2 separate regions of the Homo sapiens genome follow, and region 2 is linked to region 1. Evidence: promoter capture Hi-C in human tissues and cell types (Jung and others, 2019). All regions are on one chromosome and are shown on one strand. The core of a region is centred on a gene start or on the middle of the fragment in contact, and the rest is flanking DNA. Distances in the headings are between cores, read along the strand shown.

Region 1 (5,423 bases), core at 1,283-3,782:
AAGATAATTAGGAATAACTAACTCCTCTTCCCCCACCAAAAAATTTGAGCTCAAGGGACTACATAGCTCAATGGGAAATGAAATTCAACCAAGACTCTAGAAGACTAAGTAGAGTCCAGGGGATAAACAGCAGTAGAGTGGGGAGAGGGACACTGCCTTCTCTTCCTTAAGGAGCATGGAGGTCCTCTGAGGGCTTGGATAGTCAAGCAGCATGTCTGTGCCTGGCAGAGACAACCTCACAGACATCTCTGCAGCTAAGAGGATCCTGGCAAAAGGATGTGAGCAGAGCATTTCCTTCCGGGTTCATAGTTTTTCGGGAAAGTGTGTACCTCCATGATGTACAGTGGCACTCTCCCTCTAGCAGGTGGGTTTCTTTGAATTAGAGTTTAACTTCATCTTGGATTCCAATCAGGAGTCCCTCTTCCTCACTTGGTATCACTCATGAGGTCACATTTACCCTGATATTCCATGAAAACACTTTATCACCCACCTTCTAAACAGCCAATGTCTTAAGCAGTGAGTCTCATTGCTGTACCAATATTTTAACTGTGAAATAGTACAACTTTTCTACTAATAGTTGACATTGTATTCCCTATAGTAATTAGATTATGGGTGTTTCTTTCCCATTTTTTTTGTAATCAGTTTAAATCCTTTTTGAAATGTTAAACTAGTCTTTGGGAAAACATTTTTTGTCCCAAACTTAGGATATGCATTACTCCCTCATTCTTATATTTTAAAATATGTCTACAAATTTAGATCTCATTCTTTGATACCATCTACATAGCTAGTTTTATCTTATTTCCTCTTTTCTTATAAATTGACAACTTTCAGTGATGTTAGGTAAACATTGACTGTATGTCTAAGTCCTTCATCCTCCTGCCTGACTTCATAGGTCCCAAAGGTACCTCTTAGATTTGTGTTTGTGTTAGAGAGTGTCCACCATCTGTCGGCCTCATGTTGATTCTTCTATACCCTTCTGTTTATCAGAGTAGTAGGAAGACTGCAAAATACATTTCCCAAAATCCCTTGCTAGCTGGCATCCAATGGAGGGCAGGACATGAATGAAGGCTGGAGGGAAGAAGCCATTTTTTAAAAATACTTTCTGCTTGCACCTGTGGCAGTGCCAGCAGCAGCAGCCACATGGACAGCAACAGTGGTGACAGCAACAGCAAGATTAGCAGTTTGGGCAAGAACATAGAAGCAAGGGTGCCTGGTGAGCACAGGTTCCTGAGGCGCTGCTCAGGCAGCAGTTCTCCAAAGGAAGCAGCCTCTATGGCACAGTGTCCATGGGCTGTGGGTAAAATCATTTTCCCTATTGTCCTCCAGCTCTATGTGCAATCACAGTTTAGTGCAATTGCCAGTCCTTGGATAACCTAACCCTTCTTGTTTTACTCCTCTAACCCATTTCTATATTTTCATAACAGATTCCTTACATTAAATGCCCTCTGTCAAACACAGATCTGTTACTGTTCTCCTGATTGAGTAGCGTCCAAGGCAAGCTGGTAGGAATTTCAGCATGTGTGTGCAACATCAGCAGATGCAGTGCACCCAGAATGAATTTCATCATATCCTGGAAAAACGTTTGAGGAAGACTCGATTGACAATGTCAACTCTGCACACCACTGTTCTTTATCTCTTGGTAAAGAATCATCAACCTCTCAGATCCAGTGAAAGATTTTATGTTATTTACTGGCATTTAAAGACACTTGTTTGTGCTGTGCTTATTTCCCAGGAGGTCTGCATTCAAATTACTGGGGAAAAAATGCAAGACTTTTGCATCTGTTGAGCCCTTTCTTCTTTAAGGCATATGATTCATCACTCTCATCTCCCTGCTTTTTTCTTCCCCTTAGTCTCCTAAGAATTTTGAATGTATTTTCTTTTGATATTTCTTCTTCCCTTTTCTTTAGGAACTCTTCATCTTTGCAGATAAGCTGGCATTCAGAAGGAGGACACTTGAGAAAGAAAGGAAGCCAGTAGAATAATGCTATCACAGAAGAAAGGATGAGGTCAGTGTGGGCTCTAGTCTTACGCCACAGGTTAATTATCATCATATGTAGCCTCTAATTAAGATAAAATATGGAGAATATCTTATTCCCCCACAAAATGAAAGGGAACTTAGCTTAAACTATGGAATAATTTCATAGGTTACCACAGGCAAATTCATGCCCATACCTCTATATTCAGGAACTCTTCCTTCATCATCCTGAGCAATGAGGAAGGGGACTACTGACTCCAAATTTTGGAAATATTTATGTCATGGCCCATTGCCCTGATGGATTTGTTGACCTTTAATATTTAGAATCTCTGCCTCTATGCATGTTACCCCCGATATCTGCATGTAACACAGATATGGTAGATTTAGAAGATGACACTTGATTAGACACAAAATGTGGAAGAAAAAATATCAAACTGTGTAGCTGAATGTTACCCAGAAGTGAAGAAAGGCATGCAGCCAGATTTCCCCAGCTCTTTGTTTCATCACATGATGTTGCTTGGATATCAGCTTATCAACAGACTTCCACCACCACCACCAGCATATAAACAGAGTCCGCGTAAGAAAACTACACTGAATAGGAATGGCAGCTTTTAAAAGTGGGGGAACTACAGTATAGGGTAAGTTCTTTTTAGGCAAATCTGTCTTTTTGTTTCAGATATATTATTTTGTAGATGTTTCTCTCCCTGAATTCCATGAGTATTTTAATCAAATTTTATCAGGTATAGGCCACTTGAATAGGTAAGATAAATTTATTCAGCAGTAGCCCCAGAAAAGCACACATGAATTGTTGCCATAAGAAAGAGCATCAGTCATTTCTTTATGCTATTTGAGGAGAGAAGAAATCTTTCCAGCTTGAAGCATATTTATTCTCTGTTCTACAGATCTGGAAAATGGGAGGAGGGATATTGAAATGATTTGAGTACAGGATAGAGCGTAGGTGTCAATCACAGAGAATATTACAGGAGTATATCTTGGTTGGTATGGTTTCTGGAGTGCACATTAAAGGAAAGCAGTACTGACTAAAATATTTACAGTTTAATTTAGACATTTATATAGCAGAAACAGTACACACAGAGATGTTGACTAATGTTTTCCTAATAAATTTCTCTTCTGGAAGAATGGAACCTTCGATGTGTGAACTCAAATCAGTCTCCACATGTATTACAATACTCCTTAAGCATGTGTATGTTTATGAACCTATGAGTGTGCATGTGTTTGTGTGCATGAACATGCGTGAAGGTCGGGTAGAGAGAGAAGAAACTGGCATAAAGTGAGAGCATTCTATATTCACGATTTCAGTGAATCAAACACCCAGTGAGGTAGGCATTGTAACTGCTGTCTTAAGGATGAGAGGGCTGAGGCTTACAGAAGGAAAGAAACTCAAGTCTTTCTAGTTCTAAAGGCCATACAGCCTCTATTACAGTTTATTTTCTTCAGTTAATATACGTGCAGGTATTAATAATAATCTACGTTTAGCAGATTGTTACTATGTTTGATTTGCTGTGGTCTTACTTTCTATCATTCAGTAATTCACACTGCTAACAAAGACAAAGGAGTAAGCAGAGGGGAAAATACTCTGGGTTTGCACTTTGTGATTTGGCAACCTATTCCAATATGTCTATTCTTGCTGGATTGTTAAATTCATATTATTATACACACTTCAGACTCTAAACCCTAAATCACCAGGAAAGGAGACTTAATCATAGCAAATGTGACTCTATTATTCTGTATCTTTCTCAGGCAAGTGGAAACATGACAAGTTTAATAGTTTTATAGTACAATGCTATAAAATTGCACATCTAAATTGCAAGAAGTGGAGAATGACGTAAAGGCATACTACACTGCCACTAAAAATCATATTTTTAAGGAATATTTAATGATCTGAGAAAGTGCACAAAATGTATAAATTATGATCTCCCTTTTCTAAAATTACACACAATGTACACAGAAAAAAAAAATAAATAAATAAAAGGAAAGTGAAGCTCAGCATGGTGCCTCATACCTGTAATCCCAGCACTTTGGGAGCCTGAGGTGCAGGATAACTTGAGCCCAGGAGTTTGAGACCAGCCCAGGGAACATAGGGAGATCTTATCTCTACTAACAATTTAAAAAATAATTGGGTGTGGGGTGTGTACCTGTAGTCCCAGCTACTCAGGAGGCTGAGGTGGGAGGATGGCTTGAGCCCAGGAGTTCAAGACTGCGGTGAGCTATAGTCGCACCACTGTGCTCCAGCCTGGATGATAGAGTGAGACTCTGTCTCAAAAAAACATATAAATAAATAAACAAATAAAAGGAAATCAACCAAATGCTAACAATAATTATGGATAGTTAGATGCAAGTTGAGTATGCCTTATCCAAAATGCTTGGGACCAGAAGTGTTTTGAATTCCAGATTTTTTTTTTTTGATTCTGGAAAATTTACATTATCTTTGCCAGTTGAGCCTCCCAAATTCAAAAATCCAAAATCCAATATGCTCCAATGAACATATCCTTTAAGCATCTTGTGGGCACTAAAAAAGTTTTGGATTTGGAGCTTTTCAGATTTTGGGCTTTTAGATTTGGGATGCTCAACTTGTATGAGTAATCTTATTTTCTTCTTCAATTTTTAAATTTTTCCAAATCTTCCAAAACAATATATATTACTTTTAGAATCAGATATGAAAATCAATATTATTTAAAATTATCAAAAAATTACTACTATAAAAATAGTATGCTCTACAACACACCTGTTCCAAACAGTTAGAAAGACAAGGGCTCTGAATTATTCCTTAACTTCACAAATAATTAATAATTATTTTTATATATAAAGGGTGAGAATAGGAAAATGTGTGGAATTAAGTAGTCTGGTGATGTCCAATTACTTGGAAATGTGAGCAAATGTTCTTATCCCTTAGAACAAATTACATTTTTAAAAATTCATTTACTTGCTTACTTATTTACTTAAGTACATCCCCAAAATTGGTTGAGCTAAAAGAAATTTTATGCTATGCTTTGTTGTTTCTTGGAGGTATAGGATAAACGATGGGACAAAACTGGAAAAGACAACAAAAGCTTTGGAATGTTCCACAACTTCCTTTTATTCGAGTTCCTCCCTCCATCTATGACACTTCCTTACTAAAGGTATGGCTTTTTTTTTTTTTTTTTTTTCACAGATAGAGTGACCTGTCTGTCTCTCCTTCAAGGTTTGAGGACTTTTTCTGCTGTCTTTGTTTACCTAGCATTAAGAAGAATATTGGCCGCATAATAAGCCCTTGCTGCATGTTGAAGGCCATTCATGAGTGAACGAATGAGCACTTGGGTAACCTCCTACACTCGTCCCATTTCAGGAGCTCTGGTAGACGGTCACCTCTTCGTGGCTGACCCACTGTCAGTGATGGGAAACTCACTAATTGGCCACACTATGGCTCCCTGTTGGAGAGCTGTTAGTT
Region 2 (5,923 bases), core at 2,460-4,959, 41 kb before region 1:
TTACCTTTGTCTCATGTAATCTTCATAATAACACTACACAGTGGTTATTTTCCCTACTTTTTGGTTAGTAAGCTGTAGCCCAATGACTTGCCCAAGTTTACACAGCTCATAAGCGATGGGGATGATCAACATTAAGTCAGGTCTGTCTACCTGACTGTTTTTACTTTTCAACTTACTGAACGAAAAGAGGCCCATGCAAGCCTTCTTTACTAAGGGTTCCAAAATAAATATAAAATGACGATAAGCCTGCATATTTATTTATGCCTGTTGCTACTTTCCAACTTTCACATTTACTCTCCACTGTCAAGACCGATGTTGTTTGAGCTGAACAACGGAAGGCTGTAACAGGAGCCATGCTGTAAACAGAGGAGGAAAGACATCTTACAGTGTGAAGATGGAGAAAAACTGCAATAGCAAGATAGTCCTCCAGATAAGCCAAATCCCATCCATCTGTCCATATCAGCTGTCCCTACCAGAATAGGTTATTTTCCATTATTCCAGTCTCCACACTCTCCCTGTTGTGAAATTTCTGCAGCACTAAGACCCATACTCCAACACTCTTAAAACTATATCGTCTTGTATTATTTGCTAATTAGAATTTTAAAATAAAGTTAGAGGTGGTCATAGATCACGTGCCTAAATGGAACCTTTTAGAGATAGAACAATAGTGCTTCTTGTGTGGCCTGTCTTCCTAATTAGATCGGAGGGTAGGGACTATGCCCTACTCTCCTTTATAGACACCCTTTCTCACACTCTAACACAGCGTGTAGTACATGGTGGGTACTCAAAATATACTAGGTGATTAGATCACTAGCATATTTTACCAGGAAAACAACGTATGTAAAAAGAAGAGCTTTGTGGGCTTTTTTTTCTTTCTCTTTAAGTTTACAGGTTGTTTTACTACCTTTCTCTGGGAAGTATGTATGTTTCACTTCAGACACATCAAAAGCCAATGTAGAATGTTTTATGGTCTCCAAAATGTCCTTCTCTCTTTGTTCAGCAGGCACACTGGGGTCCTTTTATTTCTTAATAATTATCTGTAGTTGAAATAATATTGTAGCTTTTCATTGATAATAAACTGGCAATAATGTAAACTCATAATGTAAGCTTCCACTTTTTAAAATATTATTTTTTAAAAAGTAGTGCGTGCACACAAATTAAAATGTTAAGTGCGCAAAGTGTTTTTTAAAGTCCTAGTTTCCTTCCTAAAGAGCAATTACTGTTACCTACTCTATCATTCCAGAAGATGTATGTTGTCTTAGTCTACTCTGGTTGCTATGACAGAATACCTTAGACTGGGTAATTTATAAACCACAGAAATTTATTTCTCACCATTCCAGAGTCTGGGAAGTCCAACACCAAAGTGTCGGCAGCTATAGTGTCCGGTAAAGGCTTGCTCTCTCCTTCCAAGAGGGTGTCTCCCTTCTGTGTCCCCATATGGTAGAAGGGCAAAAAGGGTGAACTCTCTCCCTCAATCACTTTCATAGGCACACTAATCTTTAATAAGTCATCTCCTAAAGGACCCACCTCTTAATAGTGTTGCACTGGGGACTTCCAGCATGAATTTGGAGAGTCACAAACATCAAACCATAGTACACATATATGAACAAATATATATTCTCTGTCTGTCTCTCCCCTCACTCTTTACTCTCCAACAAATATGATACCATATTAGTCATATTCTTTTGCAAAGAATTCTTTTTATTTTTTCACTCAACAATATATGTTGGTGATCATTTATTAGCACAGACAGACCTACCTCAATATTTTAATGGTTGCATAACATATCATTCCATTATCCTTCCAAAGACCCAGATATGACCTCTCTCTTGCTTTAGGCTAGTTAGGGTATTTCCAATCTTTTGGAATTATAAAATGCTGCAATTAACATCCTTTTACATGTATAATTTCAAACATATAGGAGAAGTTCCCATAGAATCAAAGAGTATTTGATGTGAAATTTTGAAAGATATTGACAAATTATTATTGAAAATGGCTGTGTCCTTTCATTTCTCCATTAGCACTATTTGAGAGTGTCTTGGTAAGAGAGTGTGTTATCAATTTTTTCTATTTGTCAATCCAATGGGTTAAAAATGGTTTCTTTGTGTATTTTGTAAGTTGAGTGCTTTTTCAAATGTTTAGAGTTAATATAGTTTTTTTTTCTATGAATTATCAAGATACTATGGCCATTATCCTACAGAGATAGACCATGAAAGAAAGATAAAAGCTTTTCCCCTGCTTTTGGAACAAAGGGATCCCACATTTTCATTTTGCCCTGAGCCTAAAAATTATATAGTCAGCCCTGGCTATTCTCAACCATATGCAGTATACTTTTGTTATTTTTTGATCTTTATATAAACCATAGTATGTGTATCCTGCATCTTGCTTTTTCATTAATTTTTTGTTTGCGGGCTTCAACCGTGTTAATGGTTGTAATAGTAGCTAAGCACACATAATGGTTCTATGAATATACTTGTACATATCTCTGGGTGCCCCTGTTCAAGGGTATTTTTAGGGATTGTGTGTACACATAAGCATGTGCATTTTGTGTGTGTGTGTGTGTGAGATTTCCTGGTCATAGGATATGCATATTTTTACTTTACTATGACCAAATTGTTATACAGAGTGGTTGTAGAAAGCTACATAGCATATATATATATATATATATATATATATATATATATATATATATATATATATATACAGTTTGTTTTGCAGTGATCTCCATCCTTACCAACATTTTAGTATAAAACTTTAACTTATTGTGGTTTTATCTTGCAACATCTTCATTATTTAAAAGGTTGAACATTTTTCATTTATTTAATAGCTATTTGGGCTGACTCTTCTGTGAAGTGTTTATTCCTATGTTTTACCACTGCTTTTGGGGGAGGCAGACTTTTCCTTTTTGCTTATCTTTGCATTTAGGAATCTTTTGATTAAGAAGTGTTATTAATTTTAACTCAGTTAACTTTCTTATCTTTTCATTTATATTTGTGCTTTTCGGGTCTTGTTTTCATCATTTTTTTCCTGCTCCAAGATCATAGAAATATTCTATATTTTTCCCCAAAGTCTTAAGTTTGTGGTTTCCATATCTAAATCTTTTTCCCTTTTATTTATTTTTGTGTATTCTTTTTTGTGTTGTTGTTGTCCATATAGAAAACAAATGATCATAGCATCATTTATTGAGCAACCCATTCTTACTGATCCGCAGTGACATTCCAGTTATATACTAGATTTCATTTTATGTGTGGGCTTGTTTCTACACGCTCTGTGCTGATCCACTGGTCTATCCTATGTTCCTGTGCCATATTATGCTCTCTTAATTAATCAAAGCTTTATTATATACACAGGGCAATGAAAACTGGCAAAACAGCTCGCCTCATCCTGTTCATCCTCTACAGGGGTGTTTCAGCTATTCTTGTGCTTCATTTTTCCATAAAAATTTTAGAATCTGCTTATCAAGTTCTGCAAACAGCTCTGGATTGAATTTGAAAGGAATTGCATTTTATTTATAGAGCAATTTGAAGAGAATGACCAAACTTTTAATATATTGTGTCCTTCTATCACAAATATTATATGTATACAAAATAAATATAAGGCCAGGTGTGGTGGCTCATGCTTGTAATCCCAGCATTTTGGGAGGCCAAGGTGAACAGATCACTTGAGCCCAGGAGTTCGAGACCAACCTGGGCAACATAGTGAGACCTCATCTCAAAAAAAAATAATAATAATAAATAAATAAATAGATAAATAATATATGCATTTATTTACGTTTACTTTAATGTATTTTAATAACATATATAATTTCAAAGAAGTCTTGCACAAATTTTGTTAGATTTATTCCTGGATGTATTATGATTTTGTTGGTATTTTAGGTGCTCTGTTTTGTTAAATTATGTCCATATTCTTGAGGAGTTTCTATATAAACAATCATATTACCTGCAAATAACCAAAGCTTAGTATTTCCTTTTATAATTCCTACATTTTATTTTTCCTTATCTTACTGCACAATGTTGAATCAAAGGCATCACTGTTGTTTTTTATTTTAAAGGGAGTAAGGTTAATTTTTTATTAGTAAGTATGGTTTGCGCTACAAATTTTTGGTAGGTACTCTTTTTAAAATAGCAATCATCACAGAGTAAGTTATATTGTGATAGCAAACAACATCCAGATCATGGGGGCTTACTGCAACAAAGATGTCTATTTGGTTTTATAACATGGAAACTGAGCTGGCCTCTACTCTGTTCCATTTCTGCTCCACATGCTTTTTTATTCTGGGATGGAAGTTGAAAAAGTAACATTTATTTAGGAGTGAGACCCTTGAGGAGGGGATGTGGGAGAAGAGTGTATTAGCTCTTAAAGCCTCTTTCAAGACTTAATAGACATCATTTCTGCTTTCCTGCTACTCCTGGCAGAGCAAGTCACATGGCCCAGGCTGGATGTCAGCCAACCAGGAAGTACACTTCTCTCATAGCGGGGAGGTGTGTAAAAACATTTGGGAACAATAATTCCTTGCTCCTTCTATTAAGAAGAACTATTATTTTAGTATGAGGTCTTTGGAGAGCTAGGAGACCACATATGTTTAAAGTTTATCTAATAGTATTGAAATAATTATTTAATTTGTTAATTTCATGAACTAAACTAGATTTTTTAATACAAAATATATTTTGCATTTATAGGATGATGCAAATTTATCATGGTGTGTTATATTTTTCACATATTCTTGGATTCAGTTTGCCAATATTTTTAAAGGATTTTTGCATTTATGTTCATGAGTAAATCATTTTTCCTGTCTCGAATTATCTCTATGTGAATTTCATATTGTGTTTATATTTATCTCACATATTTGCTAAGGAGTTTTTCTTTTTCTTTTTTTATTATCTGAAAGAATTTGTATAAGATTTGAATGAACTATTAACTATTCCTTGAATGTTTGGTGTAATTCTTATAAAACTATCCAAGCCTGGGCTTTTCTTTGTAAAAGTATTTTTAACTACTGACCTAATTTTTTAGTGGCTACTGAGACTGCTGGCTGGCTGGATACATCAAGATGTCATTTCTGACTTGGCCCTTTTCAGAGTATCTTCTTGTAAATAGACATATCTCAGAGACAACTACGGAATGATGTGGACAGGAAGGAAGAAGTTTTCAGACATGTGGTAGAACTGGGCAAGTTCTGAGCTCAGTTCTGGACAAAGCACAAGCAGGTACCAGGTCCTAGAGCGATGCCTCATCTACAATGGTCTCCTGATTAATCTGGACACCTGTGTATTGCAAAAAAACATGATAATACATAGATTGAAAAATAACAAGATGTGATTAGGAAATCACTTTTAAATACCTAAATTGGGAGATGCTATGAGGATAAAATATGCATATTCTATGCAAAGCAGAAAACCCAAAATGCCCTGGTTCACTAATTAAGCTATTTTTCTACTTTCTCATCCCTTTCCTTTCTAACTGTGGGGTGACTCCTGGCAAGATCTGCCCTCCACTGCCGGCTTCTGCACAAAGTTGAGAAATCAATATTATAATCATGCACTGTTTCCATAGCAAGTGCTCCTGCAGCTCTGAGCAAAACAGCACTTTCTAGACCCTGCCAGAGTATATGTGGCAAAGAAAGATTAATTAGCCACTCACTAATTGACAGTATTTCCCTCTACATCTGCTTGGGCCTGATGTGAGTTTAAATGTCTCTATTAAGTGCCTGAAGCTGATTGCACATGTATAAAATTTAATGTCCCTTCTCAAACCTCAGAGATGTCTGAGACCTCAGTTCCGTCTCTAAACAGTAGAGATGTGGGCAAAAGGCTTAGCGTGGACGGCAATTCTGGAGAGGCAACAGAGAACAGTTAGGTTAGGGGTTGGGGTCAGGCAGAAGTGCAGTAGGGTGGAGTGGGAGAGCTGAGGTGTAGCTCTAGTT

Evidence for each region. Contacts are between HindIII fragments. The study calls those that stand out against the background at their distance.
Region 2: a fragment that was not itself captured here is called in contact with the fragment with the promoter of FAM216B in region 1 in 3 of the 25 tissues and cell types used here (H1 embryonic stem cells, aorta and ovary).

What each region holds. Positions count from the first base shown.
Region 1 is chr13:42,779,052-42,784,474 of GRCh38, forward strand. FAM216B (family with sequence similarity 216 member B) reads left to right here and starts at 2,533. Exons shown (of 4, transcript NM_001318932.2): 1 at 2,533-2,613; 2 at 5,003-5,115. The coding sequence starts at 5,017. The HindIII fragment of the contact is 10,798 bases long and covers 1-5,423 here.
Region 2 is chr13:42,736,527-42,742,449 of GRCh38, forward strand. All of the region lies in intron 1 of LOC124903164, which reads right to left. Among named protein-coding and RNA genes, the nearest start is that of FAM216B, 42 kb to the right of the region's middle. The HindIII fragment of the contact is 4,084 bases long and covers 1,668-5,751 here.